Regions from separate parts of the Homo sapiens genome. Here region 1 is linked to region 2. The links are contacts of gene promoters, found by promoter capture Hi-C in human tissues and cell types (Jung and others, 2019). All regions are on one chromosome and are shown on one strand. Each heading gives the region's core, a stretch centred on a gene start or on the middle of the fragment in contact. The rest is flanking DNA. Distances are from core to core; before and after follow the strand shown. Region 1 overlaps LRIT3 (leucine rich repeat, Ig-like and transmembrane domains 3). Region 2 holds the start of RRH (retinal pigment epithelium-derived rhodopsin homolog).

Region 1 (3,908 bases), core at 836-3,335, 34 kb before region 2:
CAAACTGGCAAGTGTCCTCTAGGGCAAAGGGATGTTATCATAGTGCCTAAGAGGAGGAAAGGGGATATTTTAAGTTAGATAAAAACAATCAAAAGATTTAGAAAGGAACATGTAAACACCCACCTTAATATAGTAAGAATTCATAAATAGAATGATACTAAAACATTTATATTGAAATAAAAGGTTACTTATATTTTATATCTATAAATTTGTGTCAAAATTTATATATAAAAGCTATGCTCATCATAGCTATTTTATTATTTAATTTTAAGATTAATTTCTAAATCTGCCAGCACATCAAATTTATTCAGTTATATAATATGTATAGACTATTTCATAGTTTGAAAACACTTCAACTTATGCCAGATTTTTTTCTTTATGTAATACTACCAATGCAAGTTACAAGTTTTGATTGCTTCCTATGTGGCAAAGACCGTGCTTCTCCAAAACTGCAGAGGCTCTGAGATTTGACCCTACTTTAGGGTGACCAACCTATTCCAGTTTGCCAGCAACTCATTTCAGTTTGCCCAGGACTTTCTTGCTTTTAGCACTGAGAGGTCCACATTCTGGGAAACTTCTCAGATATGGGCAAGTTTGCCTGCCATCGTTTTATGGATGTTGGTAGAAGACACAAGACTCCTGCTCAGGGTTGAAGGAGCTCATTGCTCACAGCACTGAAGGGAGACATCTTTATTATACTGGGTAGTAAGCATGCTTACCCTTTGCTCTGGAAGGAGATATATTTCTACCTCCAAAGCTGTTCTCTTGAAAAGATAGTGCAGAATAAAAGGTAATCCTTGAAAAGATAGTGCAGAATAAAAGGTAATCAATGTCTGCCTCTGCTCACAAGACATGCAGAGATTCAGGAGATCAAAGAACAACGGCACTAAGCGTCTGAAGGATGGACTGACTCAATCCTCACAAAAGCATGGGATAGGTAGTACTATTATCATCCCCATTTTAAAGATGAGAAAACCAAGGTTCAGGAAGCTTAAGGAATCTGCCCAGGGTCACACAATTGGACAGCCAGGATTTGAACTTCAGTATCCTGATCTTAAACCACCATGCTGGTTAAAGGTTTTAACCACCCACCACAGTGGTTAAAGCTCTTAACCGCCATGTTATGCCTTCTACCACCTCTGGAATCTGGTATTATTCTTCCAGTTTTACACCAAAGGAAGCCAAAGCACAAAGATATTACTATCTTGACTTTGTAAATGGCTTAGAATCCTACATCCCAGATTTTTTTAGCATCCTAATCTAATACCCTTTCTATCATAACTCATCTCTTTGCCATCTAAAAACATTTAGAGTCATAGTGACAGTCATAAGCGCTATTATTTACAAATAAAAAAATGTCCAGGCACAATGGCTCACACCTGTAATCCCAACACTTTGTGAGGCTGAGGTGGGAAGATTGCTTGAGGTCAGGAGTTCAAGGCCAGCCTGTGCAACATGGCAAGATCCTGTCTCTACAAAAAATACAAAAATACAAAAATTAGCCAGGTATGGTGGCGGCACTTGCCTGTTGTCCCAGCTACCAGGAGGCTGAGTTGAGGGGATCAACTGAGCCCAGGAGTCATGGTTTGTGCCACTGCACTCCAGCCTGGGTGACAAAGTGAGATACTCTTTCAAAATAAAATAAAATTTAAAAATGTTAAAGCAGCAATATCTGGAGTATAAATGTTTACACAGGGAAAGATTTAAGAGCTATACAATGTTAACAATTTATTTCATGCTTTGAAATTATTAAAAAATGTATTAATGGTGAAAGAAAATTCTTTAAAAAATTAATTTCACTGGTTATATATAAAAGTTATGTAAATATTTTTAAATCCTTCAAAAATAAAATGTCTATTTACTCCAGCTTGAAACTTCTAAGGTCAAAGGTACAATTTTTAAAACCTGAATAAAAATAGTGATCCAAGAACTGAATATATTTAAGTGTTTTTTTCTTCTGAGGACAAAGGAAAGAGAACTCTCTCAAGTTAAACTGTTACTTGCACTGCATTCCTTCAAGGCAATACATCAACTACAATTACACTAATTTGCATTAATTAGTTTACTTTATATAACTATTCTTGGATGGGACAAGTGAACTTTATCCTTTCTAAAAGAATAGTATTTATATGCATCAGAATAGTTGGACTAAATGCGCTATTTTTGTGTGAAAAGTGAGCAATAAATTTTTGTACAAAAGTTATTCTGAGGACTATAAGCCCTTGAAGGCAAAGACTATGCCTACTCAGCTTTGTGGAGACAACCATGTTTAACAATTCAGTAGGGAAAGGAACGTCTTTTTAATGAATGGTGCTGGAACAAGTGGACACGTGTTTGCAAGCATATGAACCTCAACCCCTACTTTACACAATACTCCAAAACTATTTTGAGATGGATAATAGCTATAAGCCTAAGAGCTAAGAATATACAGCTAAAAATTGAGTATAAAGGCTAAAACTATAAGAAAATATCATATCTGTGATTTTGAGGTAGGCAAACATGTTTTAGATGATACACAGAAAGCACTAACTGTAAAAGGAAAAAACTAATGAATCAAATGTCATCAAAATGTAAACCTTTTTTTACTAAAGACACCAGGAAAAAATAAATAGGCAAGTCAGCCTTGGAGAAAATATTCACAGTGCATATAACAGACAAAAGACTTATATTCAATAAAGAAAAGACAAATAGCCCTTAAAAATTAAGCAAAAGATAGTTCATAAAGGAAGATATACAGTGACCCATAAGCAAATGAAAATCTGGCCAACACCATTAATAATCAGGGAAATGGAAATTAAAAACACATTGTGATACCGCTTCCTGACCCACCCACCCCCCAGAATAGCTGAAATGAAAAAGACCAACAACATTAAGTGTTGGTGAGGATATGGAGCAACCAGACTGTCATGCAGTGCTAGTGGGAATGTATAATGTTATACAGTCTCTTTGGAAAACAGGAAGTTTCCTTAAAAGTTATACATATAGCCATTCTTTTTCTCTTTTTTTTTTTTTCCACCCAGGATGTAGTGCAGTGACGTGATCTCAATTCACTGCAACATCTGCCTCCCAGGTTTCTCCTACCTCACCTGAGTAGCTGGGACTATAGGCATGCACCACCACACCTGGCTAATTTTTGTATTTTTTAGTAGAGGCAGGGTTTCGCCACATTGACCAGGCTGGTCTCAAACTCCTGACTAAAAGTGATCTGCCTGCCTTCGCCTCCCAAAGTGTTGGGATTACAGGAGTGAGCCATGGCCCCCAGCCATATAGCCATTCTATAATCCAGCAATTTCAATTCTAGGAATTTATCCAAGATAATGAAATGAAAACATGTGCCACAAAAAGCTTTGTACAAGAATGTTAATTGCAGCTTAATTTATTATGGCCCCAAACTCGAAACACCCATGTGTCCAACATCAGGAGAAAGGATGAACAATTGCTTCATTCATACAATTGAATACAATTTTGCAATAATGAACTACCAATACATGCGACAGCATGGATGATTTTCAAAAACATGATGCTGAGTGAAAGAAGCCTGGCACAAAGGTTCATCTTATATGATTCCATTTACATAACATTCTAGAGCAGGCACAATTAACCTATAGTGATGAAAATTCAAATAGGTGAGGCAAGATTGACTGGAAAGAAACACAGAACTTTCTGAGGTCATGGAAATATTCTGTATCTTGATGATGGTGTAAGTTATGTAAGGGTATACATTTATCAGAATTTAACAAACTGTAGACTTACAATCCTGCATTCCACCTATACAAAGTATACCTTAATGTCTCCATTAAAAACAAGGTTTTAAAAAGTAAAGAGTGATGTCTTTGGAGATTAACTGTAAATTTGAAACTTGACTCTGCCAGCTATAGAAAGAGGGTGAGGATTAGAGCACCCAGCAA
Region 2 (4,021 bases), core at 1,029-3,528:
TCAACCTCTCACCCTTCATTTTACAGTTCAAACATAATGATTTATTTCAGATCCTCAAATTCACCATGTCCTCTTACCTCCCAGCCTTAACTGGGGAAAGGGAGAGTGCTCAAGGACACTAAATTAACAAAATGTCTGTTGCACTGGAAGTTGTAACAGTTTATAGGAGCCAAACTATAAATGAAAGATCAAATTAAAAATTAAATAAAAAATCTAAATAGGCCCTTGGTAAAAGTAACGAATGAAATAAATGCTTTCACTACACCCTTTCCTCATAGTTTTGGTTTTGATTTGCAACTTTAAGTGAGTTTTGTTAAAGGAGGAAAGTTAGGGGATCTAAAGAAAAATAGATGCTTGATACAGGGGCAGAACAAAAGCATAAAGAGTTCAGCTATGCTTCCTTCAGTGGATCCACCAGAAACACAAACAACACACACTCATTGTATACCTTGATAAAGCTGACTCTTGGATTTATATGTGAGGGCTCTAGAACCAAAATGCCTGGGTTCAAATCCTGGTGTAGCTGCTTAGTAAATGTGTGTGCTGGACAAGTTTCTTAAGCTCTTCATCTGTATAAACTAGAGAAATAAAACTGAAGAGTAACTTACTAAATTAGTGTAAGGATGAATTATTCTGTATGTGTAAGGTTTTAGAACAGTGCTTGGTATATAGCAAGTATTCAAATGATAACATTAGTAGCAGTAGTAGTAAGATTACTATTATTATTACTGTTACAGAGATAAGAACTAAATAGAATATTTTCTGCATGCTAATTTTGTAACCAGGTCAAAAAAGGATAGTTTTGGTTGTTTTTTGGATTTTTTTTTTTTTTGGTCATCTACAAATAACTAACTAAACCAAACACTTGTATACAAAGTATTTCCATGTAATTGTTAGGAGATTTTCTCAGTCTTTTTTGCAATTACAAAAAAACTAGAACTTGTCTAGTACTTATCATAGAGGTATTCAAATGAACGAGATAACGTCACTAAAATCGCAAAACTTAACTGAGGAACTCAATTTCCAGTACTAGAAGTAATACGCTGAATTATAAGGAAGAAACGTAAACAATTATAAACTGGGTATAGGATGGTGTGTTATACTTTTCACTCTACTTTTGAATGTTTGAAAATTTTTATAAAAGTCAATCCAAAAAATAATGAACTCAATATAAGAGTTACTTCTACAACTCGTTAGAGTATAAAGTTGAAAATTAAGTGATTGCTCAATATAAAAGTTACACAATTCAATGATACATTAAAAAGATAAAAAGTTTCTGTCATTCCCCCATCCCTTTTTTTCTGCAAACAATCCTTTACATCAATGAGTGTGTAGGGAGGAAAGGGAAAAAGAAACAAATATTTGTCCAACACCTACTATATGGCATTTATGTGTCACTTAATTTTACTCCTTATAACAATCATGACAGATAACTTATTCTTATCCTTGTTTTACAGATGAGAAAATGGAAGAACAAAAAGGGAAGATACATGCTCACAGTTGCAAATATACTAAAAGATGAAATCCAAAACTCAAGAGTTTTCCAATAAGCATTCTGGAACAAGCTGAATTTTCAGACTCTGTCCTCAATGACAATATACCCTGCTCTGTCTTCTTAGGACTTTTTCTTTCCAGAACCTTTAAGTTCTTAGCTAAATTCTACCACCAAGAACAAAAATATGAGGGTTATGTATAAGAATAGTAAATGACATAAAAATATGTTTTTGCCATGGTGCATACTCTTCTCCAATAAAAACTTTAACAATCCAATAATCAAATACATAGATTTTTATGAAAGAACTATTTATCACATAGAAAACTTTTCTCAGCCCCACTTCACTGCTCTTATTTACCAAAATTCAAAATAACCTGTGGCAATGGCCATCACTAACAATGCTTTCCCTTATTCTTTCACCCACATTATCTTATTTGATCTTTACAGCCCAGAAATAGAGTATCATCATCCTCATTTACCAACGAGCAAGCCAAGTCAGGATAAATGACTTGTCAAGGTTGGCCAATAATATGGAACTTGAAACAATGCATGCCTTATGCTGAAAACTTCTGCCTTTCTTCACCCATTCTAAAGAAAAATAACTTACTTAAATATCCATACCTGCCATAATCAAGTAAGTTGCAACAATATTGTGTTCAGTCTGTGAAAAGACCGAGCCATCTTCATTTTTAGAGTCTGAACTGTTGCCTAAATTATTTCTTAGCATTTTGGAGGGAAGATACCGAAACACCCTTCATAATAAGCCTTCGATAATTATGAACTGCTTTATGAGCTACTGAGGAAAGATTTTTTAGGACCAATCATTTCCACTTAGAGACCTCAAAGAAGGGCCTTTTCATAGAGGCCCTCCCTTAACAAATTTAATTGGGCTAAAGAGGAAAGGACTTTAATTCCCAGAATAAGGGAAAAGCTTATTAGCAAAACAAAAAGAAATACCAAGCACCACACATTTTAACCTATTTGGGCATCAGTCTTCTATCTAAGGAGATTATCAAGCACACACATCCCATTTAACAATAAACAAACTCAGGAAATCAGTATAGGAGCCAGCCTTAGTCCTCTAAAACTATTCGGATTAAGGTCCCTGTTTTCTGTTGACCATTCAAGTCTTTCCATTTCGGCTCCTTTTGTTGTTTTTTTTTTCTTAACAATTTAAATATTAGTGACAAAGAAGTAGTCTCCTTCCTACTTCCAAATCTCACTCTCCTAAAGGTACCAGTATTGTTTGGTGCATATCCTTTCTTAGGCTTTTCTCTGCTTATACACATATTCATACAAGTGTTTCAGGTTTCCTCCACTTTCTTCTTGTAAATAAAAATGAGGGAAAAAAATAAGTACAAATGTATATATATAATGCAACTTGTTTTCCCATAAGGCTGTATTATAATATCCAAGTTAATAAACCCAGAATCTAATAAAGTCTAATTTATTAGTAGCTATGTATTTCATAGCATGGATATAATATGATCAACTCCACCATCCGTTAATTTCCCCTATAGTTTGATATGCACATGAGTAATTAATATTATCTGATGATAGTAATCATTGTATACTTTGCCAGAGTATCTGAATTCAATCACTGATATTGTAAAGTACAGAATAAAAATATTCTGGATTATCACATTACAACCTGAAAACCAACCTGAGCATGTTTTGTTAGAATAATAAGGTATCCCTATTACCTTTTTTCCCATATTCTTTATGCCATTAACATTATTAAAATCTGATTCTCCTCAGTTTCCTAAAATCAGTAAACATTAGAGAAATGCTTAGATGCACCAAAGTTAACAGTGTAAGCATAAAACAGAACCACTAGAGGGCTATATTTACCCACTTAGTTTAATTTTATAAAAATCCTAGAATGGCACAGCAGAAACCTAAGATAATCCTTTTGCTTCAGTTCTCTTGCCTGTGTATAAACTCAAGATGAACAGGTTGATTTATCTGTCCCAAATCTTATAGCTACCAGTACTCACATTTTTATAAATGTAATATTGTTATACCTATACTAGAAAAGCGAATCTCGTCAGTATTGTTTTCAAATGACCCTAGAGCAAAAAACATAATACCCAAGAGGAAATCACTCCCTTTAAAAAGTCTTTGTCTTTTCTTTCATTCAATATGCAAAACAAAACTTAAAATTTTTGAATTTGCTTTGGGTCATACTACCTTCCTTTTCTGTAATAAGTTATACCTAGTTGTAGCATCCATGAAAAATTTTCCAGAAATAATTATTTCTAAGAACTGAAAAATATATAATTTCAGATAGTCAGCTTTCTGCTGCAGATGAAAGTTTTGATATGAGTGAGGTAGGTGCATTTGAAGTTCTTTTTTATGCTTCCTTCATGGGTGATACAGAAAAGCTATATTGGGATAAGGCTTAGAAATACATGTGAATTTGATTCAAAATGAAATGCCTCAAAAAAACCCAGAAACTAGGCCAGGCGCAGTGGCTCACACCTGTAATCCCAGCACTTTGGGAGGCCAAAGCAGGCGGATCACCTG

The links. The method cuts DNA at HindIII sites, captures the fragments that hold promoters and counts their contacts. A contact is called where the count stands out against the background at its distance.
Region 1: a contact is called between a fragment that was not itself captured here and the fragment with the promoter of RRH in region 2, in 1 of the 25 tissues and cell types used here (bladder).

Annotation. Positions count from the first base shown.
Region 1 is chr4:109,860,443-109,864,350 of GRCh38, reverse strand. All of the region lies in intron 2 of LRIT3 (leucine rich repeat, Ig-like and transmembrane domains 3), which reads right to left. Among named protein-coding and RNA genes, the nearest start is that of LRIT3, 14 kb to the right of the region's middle. The HindIII fragment of the contact is 4,650 bases long and covers 1-3,908 here.
Region 2 is chr4:109,826,229-109,830,249 of GRCh38, reverse strand. It overlaps RRH (retinal pigment epithelium-derived rhodopsin homolog), which reads right to left and starts at 2,278. Exons shown (of 7, transcript NM_006583.5): 1 at 2,117-2,278. The coding sequence starts at 2,222. The HindIII fragment of the contact is 8,882 bases long and covers 1-3,372 here.